6 separate regions of the Homo sapiens genome follow, and all the other regions are linked to region 4. Evidence: promoter capture Hi-C in human tissues and cell types (Jung and others, 2019). All regions are on one chromosome and are shown on one strand. The core of a region is centred on a gene start or on the middle of the fragment in contact, and the rest is flanking DNA. Distances in the headings are between cores, read along the strand shown. Region 1 overlaps YWHAE (tyrosine 3-monooxygenase/tryptophan 5-monooxygenase activation protein epsilon). Region 2 has its middle 13 kb from the start of ABR-AS1. Region 3 has its middle 93 kb from the start of RPA1. Region 4 holds the start of SCARF1 (scavenger receptor class F member 1). Region 5 holds the start of BHLHA9 (basic helix-loop-helix family member a9). Region 6 overlaps YWHAE (tyrosine 3-monooxygenase/tryptophan 5-monooxygenase activation protein epsilon).

What was found. Contacts are between HindIII fragments. The study calls those that stand out against the background at their distance.
Region 1: a contact is called between a fragment that was not itself captured here and the fragment with the promoter of SCARF1 in region 4, in 1 of the 25 tissues and cell types used here (lymphoblastoid cells).
Region 2: a fragment that was not itself captured here is called in contact with the fragment with the promoter of SCARF1 in region 4 in 1 of the 25 tissues and cell types used here (pancreas).
Region 3: a fragment that was not itself captured here is called in contact with the fragment with the promoter of SCARF1 in region 4 in 1 of the 25 tissues and cell types used here (bladder).
Region 5: the fragment with the promoter of BHLHA9 here is called in contact with the fragment with the promoter of SCARF1 in region 4 in 1 of the 25 tissues and cell types used here (lymphoblastoid cells).
Region 6: a fragment that was not itself captured here is called in contact with the fragment with the promoter of SCARF1 in region 4 in 1 of the 25 tissues and cell types used here (lymphoblastoid cells).

What each region holds. Positions count from the first base shown.
Region 1 is chr17:1,345,400-1,348,660 of GRCh38, forward strand. YWHAE (tyrosine 3-monooxygenase/tryptophan 5-monooxygenase activation protein epsilon) reads right to left here. Exons shown (of 6, transcript NM_006761.5): 6 at 1-100. The coding sequence ends at 48. Among named protein-coding and RNA genes, the nearest start is that of YWHAE, 53 kb to the right of the region's middle. RefSeq lists an enhancer at 2,316-2,610. The HindIII fragment of the contact is 6,466 bases long and covers 1-3,261 here.
Region 2 is chr17:1,193,157-1,196,473 of GRCh38, forward strand. It overlaps a transcript of ABR not described here. Among named protein-coding and RNA genes, the nearest start is that of ABR-AS1, 13 kb to the left of the region's middle. The HindIII fragment of the contact is 6,525 bases long and covers 1-3,317 here.
Region 3 is chr17:1,921,297-1,924,375 of GRCh38, forward strand. No RefSeq gene overlaps it. Among named protein-coding and RNA genes, the nearest start is that of RPA1, 93 kb to the left of the region's middle. RefSeq lists a silencer at 817-999. The HindIII fragment of the contact is 9,514 bases long and covers 1-3,079 here.
Region 4 is chr17:1,643,967-1,647,067 of GRCh38, forward strand. SCARF1 (scavenger receptor class F member 1) reads right to left here and starts at 1,766. Exons shown (of 11, transcript NM_003693.4): 1 at 1,631-1,766; 2 at 1,212-1,273; 3 at 868-969; 4 at 1. The coding sequence starts at 1,731. RILP (Rab interacting lysosomal protein) reads right to left here. Exons shown (of 8, transcript NM_031430.3): 7 at 2,940-3,023; 8 at 2,184-2,653. The coding sequence ends at 2,476. The HindIII fragment of the contact is 19,188 bases long and covers 1-3,101 here.
Region 5 is chr17:1,269,024-1,272,294 of GRCh38, forward strand. BHLHA9 (basic helix-loop-helix family member a9) reads left to right here and starts at 1,421. Exons shown (of 1, transcript NM_001164405.2): 1 at 1,421-2,792. The coding sequence starts at 1,541. The coding sequence ends at 2,248. RefSeq lists enhancers at 1-218, 1,823-2,573. The HindIII fragment of the contact is 29,201 bases long and covers 1-3,271 here.
Region 6 is chr17:1,374,085-1,377,264 of GRCh38, forward strand. All of the region lies in intron 1 of YWHAE (tyrosine 3-monooxygenase/tryptophan 5-monooxygenase activation protein epsilon), which reads right to left. Among named protein-coding and RNA genes, the nearest start is that of YWHAE, 25 kb to the right of the region's middle. The HindIII fragment of the contact is 3,515 bases long and covers 1-3,180 here.

The DNA.
Region 1 (3,261 bases), core at 395-2,894, 300 kb before region 4:
GGGGAGGAGGGGGTGGTCAGAGATGGTTTCTCTTGTTGGCTTATGTCTCACTGATTTTCGTCTTCCACGTCCTGCAGCGCTTCTTTATTCTGCTCTTCACCTGTTAAAAAAGAAAAAAAGTCAATTATTTCGTATTGACTACATTAGGCTATGGCAGCCACAAACAAAGGTGTCATTCCAAGCATAAAGACTCTTCTACTTGCTACAATTGGTATTAAACGCAGGCAAAGGACTTCTATCATCCTTGACACCTGAGATGCCTAAGCCAAGAAGGGATTATGGTCCTGAAAGTATTTATTGGTCAACAGAATGAAAAAAACTGATGCGCAGTACAACTCAATGTTTTTACGCTAAATAAGCTCTTGACGTAGACAGCCAAGGAAACCATCTTACTAAAATGACATTCAAGCTTTCACATAAATCTTGGGTCAAAATACTCTTTCTCAATAACCTCACCTCTTCAAGAATCAAGAGTATTTTGCAAACTTTTTGCAAAATCTAATTTACCCACAAGCTAATTATCAGAAATGCTTCAAAATAGTTAACTGAGCAATAAACTGTTGCCAAGAAGTTCTATCGTATTTTATTGTGGGGTTCTGCTGTTATAAATATTTCAGCTTTTGTATCTTGGCCAGATACACCAAACTATAATCAGATTTTACTTCAGAGTGAAACACAGCATGCTCAAAGTAAATCAGACCACTGAGGTTATTAAAGAATGGCATTTGGACCACTTCACTCATGCTATTTGTCTTTTGCCTTTAAAGAGGGTGATTACCCTAAGGAGTTTCAACTGCACTATGACATGCAACAGAAAGCCACCTATTGGTTGGAGGGTCATCTACCTATTAGTATGCATTAAACAAGTCAGCCAAAATAAAGAAGCATGCAGGCTTTTCCCTTAAAAATGATGTAACAGGTAAAAGTTACATTCACTTGTACTTTTTTAAAAAAACCACTTACAATTACTACACAGTTAACTAGTTTGAAACAAAATAAATGAAAAATCAACCCAAGAATCATAAATGTTCAAATGACTATCCATTCATAATGCTTGTTAAATTATTTAATTAGGATGGACAAATAACACCAAACTAGCTGCCTACACACATGAAGCATTTACACTGAGTACAGCTTTGAAACAGCCTAAATGATCTCAAAATGACAAATGTCACAGCATCAAGGTTTCAGTAGTTTTCAAATCTCTTCTGCGGCGGAAACGCTTGACATTGCTGTGTGACTTCAAAACCCACTTACAGCCTCAGCAACACAGTGAAGCCCTGTCTCTACAAAAAATGAACATAACGCCGGGCACGGTGGCTCACGCCTGTAATCCCAGCACTTTGGGAAGCAAAGGCGGGCGGATCACGAGGTCAGAAGATCAAGACCATCCTGGCTAACACAGTAAATCCCCATCTCTACTGAAAAAATAATACAAAAAATTAGCCTGGCGTGGTGGCACATGCCTGTAATCCCAGCTACCTGGGAAGCTGAGGCATGAGAATTGCTTGAACCCAGGAGACGGAGGTTGCAGCGAGCCAAGAACATGCCACTACACTCCAGCCTGGGTAACAGAGTGAGACTCCGTCTCAAAAAAAAAAAAAAAAGAATAAATAAAACTAAAAGTAAAAAACTATGTATGCTGGAGCCAGGCATGGTGGCTCACGCCTGTAATACCAGCACTTTGGGAGGCCAAGAGAGGTGGATCATGAGGTCAGGAGATCGAGACCATCCTGGCTAACACAGTGAAACCCTGTCTCTACTAAAAATACAAAAAAAAAAAAAAAAAATTAGCCAGGCATGGTGGCAGGCGCCTGTAGTCCCAGCTACTCGGGAGGCAGGAGAATGGCGTGAACCCAGGAGGCGGAGCTTTCAGTGAGCCAAGATTCTGCCGCTGCACTCCAGCCTGGGCGACAATCGAGACTCCGTCTCAAAAAAAAAAAAAACTACATACGCTGGGCATGGGGCCACATGTCTATAGTCCCAGCTACTTGGGGGGCTGAGGTGGGGGAGTTCTATTTCTGCAGTGAGCTTTGAACGCCACTGCACTCCAGGCGGGGCAACAAGAGCAAAACTCCGTCTCAAAAAAATGTATAAAATTTTAAAACTACTTAAAATACATGAAGATCTTTAATTCATAAGACAGAAAAAAAATATGCAAAGGCAAAAAAAAATTGCTTAGGGATGAAAGAACTGATGGGCACCCAACTGTTCTCCAAAGGACAATAACGTATTCAAACGTAGGAAACATGATAGGAACATTCACTCTAACAGCAAATCACTGCCAAAGTATCATTAACACAAACACTAGAACACAACTCGCTTGTAAGCAACCATGAGATGTGCCAGAAGTTCCAAGTAACTTTGGCATAAAAATGTCACTGTCATATACATCACATCCAACCACAGTAGGCAGGAGGAGCAGGCCGGAAAAGGCTTAGGTCAGCGCCCTGGAAGGTGGAACAGGCAGAGTCTGTAAGCAACAGGACGATCATACGCAGGCATGATTAGTGAAGAACCAAAACTGAAAGCGGAATTCACTGTGCCATGAACGTGACTTACAAAGTAGAGTTTTTAGGAAAGGAAGAGTTGGGTTTTCCTTTAGGAATCTATATTGCAAGGAAAAAGGGAGGGAGAACAATCATATGAAAGCAACATTACAAGAAAAATAAACCAACAGAGCAGGACAAAGGAAAACAATGATACAGGAGCCGGACTTTGGTCTTACTTCGTGTAAACTTCACTCTAAGCAACAATCTGTCTACTCCTCCTCCCTTCTACTCTGAGAAGGAAGTAATATCCTCTTGAAAGACATACAGATATTAGGGGAAAAAGGATTCCTTGGCTATGTTTCTTTGCCCAGTGTATCTACATTTTGGAGAGAGGGGAACAGGCAGGGAGAACATGTATTTCCTACCTATGGATTCGTATATGAAACAATCCTCTTACCACAGGGTGAAGAGACTAAAATCACTTGAGAAAAAGCAATGATCCCTCCCTTTAAAGAAATTATGTTCCAACATGCTGGGACAGACATTAACATATTCTAAAATTAAAAGACATAAATACCGTCTCTTTAAAAAACAAAAAAATCTAAATAATCCTTAAACTAAATGCAAAGTCACATCCTAGTAAACTGCCACTTTCATGACGATTCTCCTATATTCACCACGGAACCCAAGTCACAAAAGTAGTATTTTATTTTGTGAGATGAAGTTTTATCTTGCCCAAGCTGGTGTCAAACTCCTGGGCTCAAGTGAT
Region 2 (3,317 bases), core at 734-3,233, 450 kb before region 4:
GAATATAGAAACTGCTACTAATCTAACGTGTGGCCTCAGCATGAATTCAGGAAAACAACAGAATTAGCAGCTTTTCTTAGATCCACCTTATAGAGAAGCCTTTCTGGGACACCCCCTCCCCCTCAATACCCACAAGGATTCAGGACTCCCCCGCTCTCCCGGCGAGTTTGCTGAACGCCCTTCGGCCGACGTGTCCCGAGCATCGCCAGTATTTACGTTCTAGGCACCCTGTTAAGCACGTAACCTTCACTCTTCGCAAGCAGCCTCTCTATGTGGAAGCCACAGTCACCACGCCCGCTTTACAGAAGAGGCTCAAGTTCACACTGCTAGTGAGTGACAGAGCCAAGTTCTCACTCGGGTCTGGCTCGGTCCAGAGCAATTGTACCTGGCCACCAGTCCTGAAGCTTCAGGAAAGCATCCTGACCAGATGCCGCCCGACATTCACTCAGGAAGAGCTCGGTTTCCAGCACGCCAGGGAGTACTGGCAACTGACGCTAATTCAAGCACATCAGTGCAGCCCTTTTTGTTTGTGTGTTTTTATGTTTGAGATAGAGTCTCCCTCTGTCCCCCAGGCTGGAGTGTGGAGTGCAGTGGCACAATCTCGGCTCACTGCATCCTCCGCCTCCCAGGTTGAAGCGATTCACCTGCCTCAGCCTCCTGAATAACTGGGACTACAGGCACCCGCCACCACGCCCAGCTAATTTTTTTTTTGTATTTTTAATAGAGACGGGGTTTCACCGTGTTAGCCAGGATGGTTTTGATCTCCTGACCTCGTGATCTGCCCACCTTGGCCTCTCAAAGTGCTGGGATAACAGGCGTGAGCCCCGCGCCTGGCCACTGCAGCTCTTAAAGCTTACTCTCCAGGGGAAGTGGCAGAGGAAGGAAGACACAAAGATGAATTTCCATCCTCTTTCTCCTCTACTGAAATCTGACAAGCTCCTGGGTCTTTTGATTTCTCCTTGAACATGAGGTTTGTACCTGGAGGATCTCTGGTGGCAAGGGTGTTTCCTTTGTTTTTTTTTATTTATTTATATTTTGATTGATTGATTGAGACAGAGTCTCTCTCTGTCGCCCAGGCTGGAGTGCAATGGCACGATCTTGGCTCACTGCAACCTCCGCCTCCCGGGTTCAAGTAATTCTCTTGCCTCAGCCTCCCAAGTAGCTAAGATTACAGGTACACGCCACCACGCCCAGCTATTTTTTTGTTTTGTTTTGTATTTTTAGTAGAGAGGGGTTTCACCATGTTGGCCATGCTGGTCTCAACTCCTGACCTCAGGTGATCTGCCTGCCTCGTCTTCCCAAAGTGCTGGGATTACAGGTGTGAGACACTTCGCCCAGCCTTCTTTATTTTTTAGAGACAAGTCTCACTCTATCGCCCAGACTGGAGTGTAGTGGTGCAATCATAGCTCACTACAGTCTCGACCTCCCAGGCTCAAGCCATCCCCCTGCCTCAACTTCTTGCATAGCTAGGACTACAGGCATGCACCACCACACCCAGCTAATTTTTTTTTTTTTAAGATGGAGTCTCGCTCTGTTGCCCAGGCTGGAGTGCAGTGGTGCGGTCTCAGCTCACTGCAACCTCCACCTCCCGGGTTCAAGCAATCCTCCTGCCTCAGCCCCCCTAGTAGCTGGGATTACAGGCATGTGCCACCATGCCCTAAAAATTTTGTATTTTTAGTAGAGACAGGGTTTCGCCATGTTGGCCAGACTGGTCTCGAACTCCTGACTCAGGTGATTCACCCACCTCGGCCTCCTAAAGTGCTGGAATTACAGGTGTGAGCCACCGCGCCCGACCCTAATTTTTTTTTTAATTTTGTACAGACAGAACCTCACTATGTTGCCCAGGCTGCTCTTGAAGTCCTGGCCTCAGGCCAGGCGCGGTGGCTCACGCCTGTAATCCCAGCACTTTGGGAGGCCGAGGCGGGCGGATCACGAGGTCAGGAGATCGAGACCATCCTGGCTAACACGGTGAAACCCCGTCTCTACTAAAAATACAAAAAATTAGCCGGGCGCAGTGGCGGGCGCCTGTAGTCCCAGCTACTCGGGAGGCTGAGGCAGGAGAATGGCGTGAACCCGGAAGGCGGAGCTTGCAGTGAGCGGAGATCGCGCCACAGCACTCCAGCCTGGGCGACAGAATGAGACTGTCTCAAAAAAAAAAAAAAGTCCTGGCCTCAAAGGATCCTCCCACCTTGGCCTCTCCAAGTGCTGGGATTACAGGCGTGAGCCATCAGGCCCGGCCCTTAAGGGTGTTTTCTACTGCTACAGTGATTAACTAGTCTCTGGTGTATCTCTCTCCCAAAGGCAGCCCCCAGCCCTGCCTGACCCAGGCTCAGCAAGTAGCGTAAGGAGCATTTTAAAGAAAATTATTGGCTGGGCAGTGGCTCACGCCTGTCATCCCAGCACTGTGGGAGGCCGAGGCGGGTGGATCACGAGGTCAGGAGATCGAGACCATCCTGGCTAACACGGTGAAACCCCGTCTCTACTAAAAATACAACAAATTAGCCGGGCGTGGTGGTGGGCGCCTGTAGTCCCAGCTACACAGGAGGCTGAGGCAGGAGAATGGTGTGAACCCGGGAGGCAAAGGTTGCAGTGAGCCGAGATCGTGTCACTGCACTCCAGCCTGCGCAACAGAGCGAGACTCTGTCTCAAAAAAAAAAAATTATTGGCCGGCGCGGTGGCTCACGCCTGTAATCCCAGAACTTTGGGAAGGCAAGTTGGGATTGTGGGGAGAGATCACTTGAGGTCAGGGATCACTTGAGGTCAGGAGTGCGAGACGAGCCTGGGCAACATGGCAAAACCCCATCTCTACTAAAAATACAAAAATTAGCCAGGCATGGTAGCAGGTGCCTGTAATCCCAGGTACTCAGGTGGCTGAGGCACGAGGATCGCTTGAACCAAGAAGGAGAAGGTTGCAGTGAGCCGAGATCACGACACTGCACTCCAGCCTGAGCAACAGAGCGAGATTCTGTCTCAAAAAAAAAAAAAAAAATAGGCAAGGTGCGGTGGCTCACGCCTATAATCCCGGCACTTTGGGAGGCCGAGGCAGGCGGATCACCTGAGGTCAGGAGTTCAAGACCAGCCTGGCCAACATGGCGAAACCCTCTTTCTACTACAAATACAAAAATTAGCTGGGCATGGTGGCACGTGCCTGTAATCCCAGCTACTCGGGAGGCTGAGGCAGGAGAATCACTTGAACCCAGGAGGTGGAGGTCACAGTGAGCTGACATCACACCACTGCACTCCAGCCTGGGTGACAAGAGTGAAAACTCTGGCCCAAAAAACAAATTAATTAATTAAATTTAATTTAGAAAAGATTT
Region 3 (3,079 bases), core at 291-2,790, 280 kb after region 4:
AGGCGGCGTTGCGGAGGAGCCGCTGAGGGTGAAACGAAGGAGTCCGGGCCAGTTCTTAGCCTTTTTCAGGATCTGATGAAAAGGCCGTGCTGGCCTGCACCTGTGGGCCCAGCTACTCAGGAGGCTGAGGCAGGAGGTTCGCTTGAGCCCAGGAGTTTGAGACCAGCCTGGGCAACAGAGGAAGACCCTGTCCCAAAAATATAAATTAATTTATTTATTAATTAAAAGAAAAAAAAAAAGGCCAGGCGCGGTGGCTCATGCCTGTAATCCCAGCACTTTAGGAGGTCGAGGCGGGTGGATCACCTGAGGTCAGGAGTTTGAGACCAGCCTGGCCAACATGGTGAAAGCCTGCCTCTACTAAAAATACAAAAATTAGCCAAGCGTGGTGATGGGCGCCTGTAATCCCAGCTACTTGGGAGGCTGAGGCAGGAGAATCAGTTGAACCCGGGAGGTGGAGGCTGCAGTGAGCCGAGATGGTGCCATTGTACTCCAGCCTGGGCAACAGAGTGAGACTCCATCTGCTTTTGGCTGGGCGCAGTGGCTCACGCCTGTAATCTCAGCATTTTGGGAGGCCGAGGGGCGGATCACGAGGTCAGGAGATCGAGACCATCCTGGCTAACATGGTGAAACCCCGTCTCTACTAAAAACACAAAAAATTAGCTGGGTGTGGTAGTGGGCGCCTGTAGTCCCAGCTACTCAGGAGGCTGAGGCAGGAGACTCACTTGGACCCAGGAGGTGGAGGTTGCAGTGAGCCGAGATCGTGGCACTGCACTCCAGCCTGGGCAACAGAGCAAGACTGTGTCTCAAAAAAAAAAGAAAAAGAAAAGAAAAAGAAAAAGAAAGCTCTCTCTGGCCGGGCGCGGTGGCTCACAGCTGTAATCCCAGCACTTTGGGAGGCCGAGGCAGGTGGATCACGAGGTCAGGAGATGAGACCATCCTGGCTAACACGGTGAAACCCCGTCTCTACTAAAAATACAAAAAAATTAGCCAGGTGTGGTGGCGGGCGCCTGTAGTCCCAGCTACTCGGGAGGCTGAGTCAGGAGAATGGTGTGAACCCAGGAGGCAGAGCTTGCAGTGAGCCGAGATCCGGCCACTGCACACCAGCCTGGGCGACAGAGTGAAACTACCTCTCAAAAAAAAAAAACAGAAAGAGAAAGAAAGCTCTCTCTGGAAACCTGCACATTCCAGGGGCCCTGCATTGAATTCCAGGAGGTTTGTGAACACCTCCTTCATCTCCCCAAACTTGTTAGGGGGACTCTGGCCAATAATCCTGCATCTGGACAAACACTTCTCATTTTCCACTTCTCAGTTCAATGATATAATGACATTTAAAATCCTAAAATTTCATTCATAAATATCCAAGAAAAAAAGAAAAGGACTATTCCTTCCTTGTCCCTGTTGGAAGCTTTATTTTTTTCCTTATCAAAGTTGTTTGAATATGTGGAAACTTTACCCAAATAGGTAAAATTAATATCACTAACTGAAAAATATATATATATATATATATATATATATATATATATATATATATATATATATATTTGGAGCAGAGGTTTAATAGGCAAAAGAAAGAGAAAGGAGAAAGGTAAACAGCTCTCTCTCTAGTGAGAGAGAAGGAACTTCTGAGATGAAAAGGCCCAGTTTTTTTTTTTTTTTTGATGGAGACTTACTCTGTCGCCCAGGCTGGAGTGCAGTGGCTCGATCTCGGCTCACTGCAAGCTCTGCCTCCAGGGTTCAAGCCATTCTCCTGCCTCAGCCTCCCGATGAGCTGGGACTACAGGCGCCCGCCATCACGCCTGGCTCTAATTTTTGTATTTTTAGTAGAGACGGGGTTTCACCGTGTTAGCCAGGATGGTCTCCATCTCTTGACCTCGTGATCTGCCCGCCTCAGCCTCCCAACATGCTAGGATTACAGGCCTGAGCCACCGCACCCGGCCCAAAATATATTTTTTTTATGGTGAATTAACAGGGAGTTACGCAAAATATTACCATTGAGGGAAACTGGGTGAAAGGGCTCCAGGACCTCCCTGCTGCTTTCTTTTTTTCAGTTTCCTGTGAACCTGTAAGTATTTCCAAATAAAAAGAAAAAAACTAAGACACATTGTAAAATGTTGTAGTATCACCTAGGATAAATTGATATATGAATTAGTGGTTGCCCGTTCAGTTTTTAAGCCAATTTGCTATTAGACCATTTAAAATTGGAAACAAAATATTAAAATCCATGAAAATATTCCAAATAAGAAAAGTAGACATATTTGATTGAAATTAACATGAAAATTTTGAGACAATTTTTCAAATGAGCAAAAACAGTGAAAAGAAAATATAAATTCCAAGGACAGTCCCGGGATTCACAAAAGCTCTTGAGAAGAGGCCTAAAACTGTCACCAGACCCAGCTAATTTTTTTTTTTTTTTTTTTTTGAGACAGGGTCTAACTCAGTCACTCAGGCTGGAGTACAGCGGCACAATCACAGTTCACTGCACCCTTGAACCCCTGGGCTCAAGTGATTCTCCCACCTCAGCCTCCTGGGTACCTGGGACCACAGGCACATGCCACCGTGCCTGGCTAATTTATTTTTTATTTTATTTTATTATTATTATTTTTTTGAGACAGAGTTTCGCTTTTTGTTGACCAGGCTGGAATGCAATGACACGATCTTGGCTCACCGCAACCTCTGCCTCCCAGGTTCAAGCGATTCTCCTGCCTCAGCCTCCCGAGTAGCTGGGATGACAGGCATGCGCCACCACACCCGGCTGATTTTTTTTTATTTTTATTTTTATTTTTAGTAGAGACAGGGTTTCTCCATGTTGATCAGGCTGGTCTCGAACTCCTGACCTCACGTGATCCACCTGCCTCAGCCTCCCAAAGTGCTGGGATTACAGGCGTGAGCCATTGTGCCCAGCCTATTTTCTTTTTTTTTTTTGTAGCTGGACCGTCTATGTTGTTCAGGCTGGTCACAAACTTATGGACTCAAGTGATCCCCCTGCCTCAGCCTCCTAAAGTACTTGAATTACAGGCGTGAGCCACCGCACCCAGCCCTGTGTGTTGTTTTGTTTTGTTTTGTTTTGTTTTTGTAGCTG
Region 4 (3,101 bases), core at 516-3,015:
CCTGCGGGGGTGGGGACGGGAGGGGTCAGCGGGCTCAGGGCCGCGCGCAGACCCTTACCCTGCGTCCCCTTCCTCAAGGAAAAGGGGCGCTGGGCCCATCCTCCAAGAGCCGGGGACAGACCCTCAGAACATCCGGCAGCCTGTCCTGGGCAACACTCACTTCCTGCTCCGCTCTGACCTACAGAAAACCCTTAGCCATTAGTGGGAGGCTCAGCCTGCCACTTCACATTCCAGAACACACTCAGAGATCCTGAGTGGGCAGGGGACTTGCCCAGAGCGTGGCACCGAGGTTGGTGGGCCTTCCTCCATGCCTGCTCCTCCCTGCCGAGATGGATCTCTGCTGGGCTGGAGGAGAGCTGGCTTTCTCCTGATCTCAGGCCTGGATACTGCCCGCCAGGGTGTCGGGAGAAGCCACCTTTCCCCTAGTGATTCCTTGATTCCTGATGCCCACCCTCTGGCTCTCCTGCTTCCCAACCCCTTTCCCTTCCCTCTCTTTCTGCCAGAGAGGGCAGAGAGCCCAGCCAGGGGCCCCCTTCCATCCACTGCCCATGTATAAGGTATATGTGGGAAAGGCAAGTAATACACTCATTTTACAATGAAGGGGAATCACAGGTTTTCTGAGAAGTGGAAGAGGAAGATGCTCAGGTGGGCAGTGCTTTGTGGATGTGGGTAAAAACCCGGTGACTCAGGTCATCTCCCGGGAGTGTGTGTCACTTCCTGTCTCTGGACCGCAATTCCTCAGTGAAGCTGGGGGGGATTCTGGCCCTGCTGTCCTGAGGCTGCATGGCTACCTGCCTCGCCTGCTCCCACACCACTGCCCCCGTACCCAGCTCTGCCCAGCAACTTCATCTGGCCCTTGAGACTCACGGGAGCTGCAGTGGGCCCCAAAGAATCCAGGCTTGCATCGACAGAGGCCCGGCTTCACACACACCTCGTCTTTCTGGCAGGCGTCCGGCCCCTCACAGATGGCTGAAAGACACCCCACCCAGGTTGGAAAGACGGGAGCAGGACCAGGGGACACCCCTGCCCTCTCACTGGCTCCAGGGGCCATGCCTCCTCAAGAGGTGCCCCTTCAGGCCTGGGGGTGCGTCACAGGAGAAACCCTGACTCCTGGTATCAGGAGGGGCAGGCCCCATGGGGTAGGAAGGAAGGGTTGTCACTGGGCTACGGCCTCCCTTCTCCTTGGCTGAGGGTCTGTCCTGGCTACTCACGGATGGTGCATTCTTGATCCTTCTGCCTCCAGCCTGCGCAGCACTGCAGCTCAGCAGAGGGGCTGTGGGGCAAAAAGGGGTCAGCCGGACATGGTGGGGGGTGCAGCCTGGCCCTGAGGAAGGTGGATCACTGTCTCTGGCTGCAGTGGGGGAGGCTGCCTTAGCCCCCTGGGGAGGCCTAATGGATCTTTACAGCTAGGGTCCCCAGCCCCTCCCCTCTCCTTCCCTGACCCTTCCACCATCTGCCCTGGCTGGCCACTACCTGCCAGACCGCCATCAGCAGTCCCTTCCTTTCAGCCTAAGCCCCCTTCCTAGTCTCCTCCTTCCCCTAACGGCCTCAACACCGGTTCAGCCACCCGCATCAGACTCCCACGAGACCCACCTGCTGGCCACACGCATCAGACTCCCACGAGACCCACCTGCTGGCCACACAGACGTGCTGCCCTTTGGGGTCCAGCTCGGACCCCTGAGTCCCCCGAGTCCAGAGCAGCAGCAGCGGGAGCAGCAGCCCCAGCCCCATGGCAGGCAGCTCGGTGGGAGCGCTCGGGTTCGTCTGGCCCCCACAGCTCCCAACCCCCTCCCTGCTTCCTCTCAGGGCTTTTCCTGAGGAAACCAGGCCGGAGGGGCGGGCTGCCACGAGGCACCTCCCTGAGAGGGAGGGGGTGGCTGGAAAGACTGACACTCAAAAAAAGAAAGGGAAAGAAAGGCAATGGCAGGGCTGACTGGCCTGGGCCTGGAAGGGCCAGAAGAATGAAGTTGCAGGTCCCTGGGTGCCGGGGCCAGGGAAGGGGGTGGACTGAGGCTGGGAGCCACGGCTTTCCATCAGGCCACACTCCCAAAGCAAGGCCTGAGCTGCAAGAAGCCACCCCACCCAGTGACTGAGCAAGGAGACCAGCGAGGACCCCTCAGCCTGCCTCTGCTCCTGGCAGGGTTGGGAGGTGGCACAGACATGGACAGACAGGCGAGGAACAGTTTCTGTGTATTACGGGCAGTTCTTTATTACATGAGCTCAGGCCGTCTGCACAAAGCCCTGGGAGCTAGGCAGTCAGCTCTCATTTCATGGATGGGGAAACTGAGACTCAGAGAGGCACTCTTATATCTGGCCCCAGAGGCTCGGTACAGAGACGTAGAGAGGGAGGCGGGCTGAGACCCCGTCCTGCCCTGATGCAGGCCAGGATTGGGGCAGACCCCTGGCGAGGGCTGTGAAGGCGGGAGCCCTGTCCTCATTTGAGGCCACACATCCTTCCACAGCCAGACCCCTAAGTCAGGCCTCTGGGGCGGCTGAGGCCCCCAGACAAAGGTGTTCGTGGAGGGCAGAACAGGGCGGATCAGGAGCTGGAGACTGTGGTTGGGCCTCCTCTTCTCCCCCTAGCTTGCTGGGTGCAGGGCTGCTGGTCTCATCCTCAGAGGATTCAGCTTTACCCCGATACCATAGGCCAAAGCTGGAGAGAGACAGCCAGAGGCACTTTGAGCCAGGAAGCCAGAGAGGTCAAGGATATGGGTGAGGGCAGGGGATGGTGAGAAAAGGGGAGAGGGGGAAGAAAGGGCAGCCTGAGGGAGTGTGAAGGTGATGGGGGCCAGGGCCAGAGAAGCAGGAGGGGACGGTGTGCTTAGAGCCAAGCACAGCAGGGTGACGGGCAGAGAAGCGGGAAAGGGGATCCTGAGAAGGACCAGCCAGGGCCCTTCCTCCCTCCCCACACTCTTGCCTTTCCCCTTTCCCCAACATACAAACTCTGTATTTTGGACTCCGGGGGTGGGGGATGGTCTCCCTTGTCATCGGAGAGCAGGATCCATGGGCCAGCCTCATCCTCACTGAGACAGAGGAGAGAGGAGAAGTGAGGGCCATTGATCAAGGCCCTGAGGGACAACAGGAATCCAGCAGGGGGGATG
Region 5 (3,271 bases), core at 171-2,670, 380 kb before region 4:
TGCAGATTTGGGGGACATAGAACCTGGGAAATACAGATGTCCTTAGGATGCTTTCATCCTAGTGGGCAAGGCAGACAATCACAGAAGTAAATACATACACTCTGCTTCCTAATGCCTTATTATTTTCTTTTATGGAGAAATTCACAGTTTGAAATAATGGGGTTATTGGCAATGCTCTTTTGGCGAGATGGATGTGAACCACACACCCATTCCAATGCCATAGGCCTTGGCATCTTAGAGGCATTTGGATTGTGACTGGGAATGAGTGGCCTTCAGGCGCTCCAAATAACTCAGCTGTGGATGCCGGAAATTCTACTGGGGGTCTTTCTTTGGGAATAAACATCATCTTTTTTCTGAGACCCTCTTTCAAATGCAAATCCCTGGGGGAAGAGGACAGAGGCTGCTCATTGAGTTCATAACCTGGCAGGGCTGTGTCACAAGATGGGGCTGCCCGAGGGCTCTGGACCCCAAAGATGCCCCTGATGTGGACCCAGGGCTGCAAAGGGATCTTCCCCGTCACCCTCTGCTGCTGACTCATCCCAGCTCTGCCTGCAGAAGGGGAGTCAAAGGGCAGTGGAGGGAGAGTCAGGCCCAACCAAAACCCGAACCCCAATTGCAGCCAGCCGCCCTCCATAGCTGAAAAAGCCGGAAGCTCTGGGTCAGCTTTACCTGCAGGGCCCTGCGCCTCCCATATGAGTCCTGCCGGGACACTCATGCTTTTCCTCAGTGACATCTCTGTGGTTGCCCACGGGACTTGACAAGAACTTTCAAGGTTTTGTTGTTGTTTTTGTTGTTGTTTTTCTGAGACGGAGTCTCGTTCTGTCTCCCAGGCTAGAGTGCAGTGGTGCGATCTCGGCTCACTGCAACCTCCAGCTCCTGGGCTCAAGCCATTCTCCTGCCTCAGCCTCCCGAGTAACTGGGATTACAGGCGCCTGCCACCACGCCCGGCTAATTTTTGTGTTTTTAGTAGACGGGGTTTTATATACTCTGTTGGCCAGGCTGGTCTCGAACTCCTGAACTCAAGTGATCCGCCCGCCTCGGCCTCCCAAACTGCTGGGATGACAGGCGTGAGCCCCAGTGCCCGGCCCTCTGCCTCTTTTTATTCCTATCAGCTCTCCTGCTAGAAGCCAAACTTAGCACCTTATCTGGGAATGGGGAGGAAGAATGTGGAACCCAGACACCCCACAGCGGCCCCAGAGCTAGGCAGGGCAAGGTCCCCGGGGCAGCGTGGCCGGGCTGCCCGTCTGGTCCCCGCTTACAAGAACCTGCAAGCTTCCCTCCTTGCTTTCCTTCTTCCCCTCGGTTCCTCCCCCGCCGACCTACCTGGAGGCCGATAATAAAGCAGGAGGAGGGAGATGGATGGACGGGAGGGCGGGGCGCCGCGTGGTGCCATAAAGCCCAGCTGGAAGGGGCCTGTCTCGGGAGTGTCCAGCCCCAGGAGCCGGGGACCGTCCGCGTCGCGAGCCGGGCCAAGGCAGTGGGCAGAGGGCAGAGGGCAGAGGGCCGGGGCTGGGGCAGAGGGCGAGTGCCCGGGAAGGCCATGCTGCGGGGCGCGCCAGGACTAGGCCTCACGGCGCGGAAGGGGGCCGAGGACTCTGCGGAGGACTTGGGGGGCCCCTGCCCCGAGCCCGGGGGCGATTCGGGGGTGCTGGGGGCGAACGGCGCTTCCTGCAGCCGGGGCGAGGCGGAGGAGCCGGCGGGCAGGAGGCGCGCGCGGCCGGTGCGGTCCAAGGCGCGGCGCATGGCCGCCAACGTGCGGGAGCGCAAGCGCATCCTAGACTACAACGAGGCCTTCAACGCGCTGCGCCGGGCGCTGCGGCACGACCTGGGCGGCAAGAGGCTCTCCAAGATCGCCACGCTGCGCAGGGCCATCCACCGCATCGCCGCGCTCTCCCTGGTCCTGCGCGCCAGCCCCGCGCCCCGCGGGCCCTGCGGACACCTGGAGTGCCACGGCCCGGCCGCGCGCGGGGACACCGGGGACACAGGCGCCAGCCCCCCGCCGCCTGCAGGGCCCAGCCTCGCGCGCCCAGACGCCGCCCGCCCCTCGGTGCCGTCCGCGCCCCGCTGCGCCTCGTGCCCCCCGCACGCGCCCCTGGCACGGCCCAGTGCGGTGGCCGAGGGGCCGGGCCTAGCACAGGCCTCCGGGGGAAGCTGGCGCCGCTGTCCGGGGGCTTCCTCTGCCGGGCCGCCTCCCTGGCCGCGGGGCTACCTGCGATCCGCCCCCGGGATGGGCCATCCGCGCTCCTGACCGGCCTCGAGGCACCGGCTGGGCTGCAGGGAGGCCGGGCTGGCAGCTGGACTATAAAACCCGGGACTGCAAAGGCGTCTTGGACAGAGCAGAACTGGACCGGCTGAGACCTGGCGTGGAAGAGAAGGAGCTCGCCAGAGAGAAGGAGCTCCGGGACCCGGGGTTGCGCCCCCACATCCCAGCCTGGGGCAGAGAGAAGGAGCTCCGGGGCCTGGGGCTGCGCCCCCACATCCCAGCCTAGGGAGGCAGTTGCCAGAAAGGCTCAGGATCCTGAACTCATCTTGGACTCGAACTCGTCTTGGAATGCCGCCTTCGCACTCCTGCGCCTCCGAGCCCTGTGTGTTCTCGATGCTTTTAGGAGAGTGAGGGCTTTGAGGCAGGAGGTGTGGGAGCGTGGGAATGCGGGTGGGGCCTGCTGTGGTCTCGTGGGCACATGAGTGCGGAGTCCCCTTCCCTGCCTGCGCTGCTGCCCAAGCCTGATCCGGGAGAGGCAGGATCCGGGAGAGGCAGGCAGGGGCAGCAGCCAAATAAAAGGAAAAACTCATTTCTCTCCGATACCACGACTCCAGTGGGCCCCGTGGCCCAGGGTGGCAGGAACGCCTGAGGGCTGGGGGCTCTCCTTGGAATGCTGGGCGGGGCCTAAGGCCCACAGGTAGGCGCCTGGGGGAACTCATTCATGGCAAGACCCCAGGTGTGGCTGAGCACTGTGGGAGCCCAAGGGGAGGAAAGAGACATCCAGAGACCCCTCCTCCCTGAGTCCCCTGGGGTGGAAGAGGATATCAGGAGAGGGGTCACGGGGCCTGGGAGTCTAAGGATGGGGTCAGCCCCGTCTCTGGACCTCCCTGCAGAGCTGCCTGGAAGCAGCCACAGTGAAGGGGGACTCTGGCCAGGTCTCAGGGAAGGAGGCCAAGGGCAGGGCTAGGATTGGGGGCCGGTAAGTCCTGCGTGCATGTACCCCGAGCGACAGGCAGGAAGAGCTCCCAGGGAACCGTGGGCCAGGGCCCCCATAATGAGGGGCCGACT
Region 6 (3,180 bases), core at 393-2,892, 270 kb before region 4:
GTGGATTACCTGAGGTCAGGAGTTCAGACCAGCCTGGCCAAAACATGGCAAAACCCCGTCTCTACTAAAAATACAAAAATTAGGCTGCCATGATGTCTAGGCGAATGTCTGTAATCCCAGCTACTCGGGAGGCTGAAGCAGGACAACTGCTTGAACACGGGAGGCGGAGGTTGCAGTGACCCGAGATCGTGCCACTGAACTCCAGCCTGGCAACAGAGCGAGACTTGGTCTCAGGAAAAAAAAAAAAAAATCCATTCGTTAGTTAATGAACATTTGGGTTGTTTCCATTTTTGGACTATTATAAACAATGCTGCTACGAACGTTCTTTAAGTTTTTGTATGAATAAATGCTTTCAGTTCACTTCAGTATACACCTAGAAGGAACTTCAGGATCACATGGTAACTAGCTTTTTGAGGAAGGACATCCCAAACTTTTCTACAGGAGCGGCACCGTTTTTACACTCCCACCAGCAACACAGGATTCTAATCTGGCCACGTCCTCAGGAACACTTGTTAGTTATTCTTTAAACTAGTCATCCTAGTGGGTGTGAAGCTGTATCTCTTTGTGGTTTTGATTTGCATTTCCTTGATAACTAATAGTGTTGAACACCTTTTCATGTGCTTATGAGCCTTTTGCGTATGTTCTCTGGAGAAATATCTATTCAAACACTTTGCCAAATATTTAATTATTTGTCTTTTCATTATTGGTATGTAGGAGTTGTTCATTTTTAAAACCCCACTGACTCCTCTTAATTCCCCCAACCCCCTCTGCATCCCTTAAGGTAGCAGATTAAGGAACAGAAGTAGCATTGAGTCAGGAGACACTTCTATTGCTTCAAGAGACAGGGTCTCACTACGTTGCCCTGACTGTATGTCGTGCAGTGGCTATTCACAGGCCCATGATCACAGCGCACTATGTAGCCTTAAACTCCTGGCCTCGAGTGATCCTCCCACCTCAGCCTCCCAAGTAACTGGGACTATAGGTGCACACTACCAAGCACATCACTCCTTCAAGAGTATGGAAAGTCAACTTCTCAATCTCTCCAAACATTCTACGACCAGTGCTTTGTACCAGTTTGTACAAATAACGACTACAATGACACTCTCTTCCAATATCACTGTCATCTTTATCCTTTTAACACCAGCAACAGAAACATAATACTAATGATAATGTACCCCAAAACTATATAAGAAAAGCTGATTTATCCAAAACTCTAGACTAACTACACCCTTCAGCCCTCCCTCAGTAGAGGATGAACTCCAACCATTATATTCACATAAAGGCCCTCAACACAACTAGCATTTCCTGAAATCACCTTTGCGGCAAGTATTTTATCAGTGGGATGTGGGCATTTCACGGGTGGGGGAAGGCTGTCATGTGTTTGCAGCAGGTGGGATCGCAATTTAAGAACCAAAAAACTGAAATGGTTGAAATCACTTCTTTTGGATCCACGGGCAGTTTTGCTACAGTAATTTTGAGTAACAAAATCGAATTTCTGGGACTTTTCATGGTTTGGGGACAAGGGTGGGTGATTAAAATCGCCACTCTGAAAAACATACTCCTCACAAGTTAATTAAACATAGTTAAGTCTCTTTAGTTCCAAGTAAGTTTCCCTTCATTGTATGGTAATAGCCTAGACACAGATCCACCACATGGAACCAGCTTGTGTCTGGGACACCCATCATCTGCTGCTGCCAGTAGAGTCACAAGTTTTTCCCCTTGACTTGTTAACTGAGGTTTGGTTTGTGGTTGTGTTCTTTCAACTATGTTGTTCATTCAACAGACTAATTCATAAATAAAACACCCCATTTCAACTATGTTGTTCATTCAACAGACTTATTCACAAATAAAACCCCCCATGCTAAAATAGGCACTGTTCCAAATGCTTCGCTGTATTAATGTGCTTAATCTTCTCAACAGACCTCTGAAGTGGGTACCAGTATTATCCCATTTTAGAATATCTCCATATACTGAAGAACACGAAGGTTAAACTTGTTCCAGATCACAAAGCCAGTGGACTACAACTCAGGGAATCTGACTTGAGTTGTGCTTTGATTTAATCATATTGCCTCAGATTTGAATATTTATTTGAATGCATCTGTACGAGGATCCTTTTGTTTGCTTCTGTGACAATAGAGGGGAAATAACTGGTTTCAGTGACTCTACCAGAGAAACAAGTTTCACATACTAAAATGTGGTTGAGACCCAGGCATGGTGGCGTCTGCCACCATGAGAGAAAGAACGAAGACAGAAAGACAGACAGAAAGACAAGAAAGACAGACAGACAGACAGAAAGAAAGAAAAAGAAAGAGAGAGAAAGAAAGAAAAGAAAAGAAGGAAAGAAGTTCACTCCTGCTTAAAACGCATTTCTTTTTCCACCTAGAGGTTCACCCCTCTCCCAAAAAAAGCTTACTTTATTCTTTTCTCTTAAAGAGACGGGAGTCTTTGTATGTTGCCCAGGCTGGTCTCCAACTCCTGGGCTCAAGCAATCCTCCCACCTCAGCCTCCTGAATACAAAAAGCTTAGTTTCATACCTCTAATATCTTTACATCAACATCCCAGTAAACCTGATTTTCCCAAGACTGTCCTTGCCAGGTAGTAAAACAAGTCTCTGCTGAGCTTCAACAGTTTCTGATAAACACAAAGTACAAAATCATAAAAGGAGCAGGTCTCCAACTATCAGGCTGACAAGTCACAAGGCACAATTTACAGCTCCTAATGAAATTCAGGGTCAGGAAAAAAGCAAACTGTTCAGAATCTGCCATGGGAAAAACGAGCAGGTTCTGTACTGGCTGACAGGATTAATGTTCCTCTTACCAAAGCACACAGGGTCATAACCCTAACTTTTTTTTTTTTTTTTGAGACAGAGTCTAGCTCTGTTGCCCAGGCTGAAGTGCAATCTCACTGCAACCTCCATCTCCCATGTTCAAGTGATGCTCTTGCCCCAGCCTCCCTGGTAGTTAGGACTACAGGTGCCCGCCAACGTGCACGGCTAATTTTTATATTTTTAGTAAAGACAGGGTTTCACCATGTTGGCCAGACTGGTTTCGAACTCCTGACCTCAGGTGATCCACCTGCCTCGGCCTCCCTAGGTGGTGGGATTACAGGCAGGGGTTACCACACCCGGCCCTAATCCTGATTTTAAGGGCAGAAAAATGAAGCTAAGAGTAATGTTCCTAA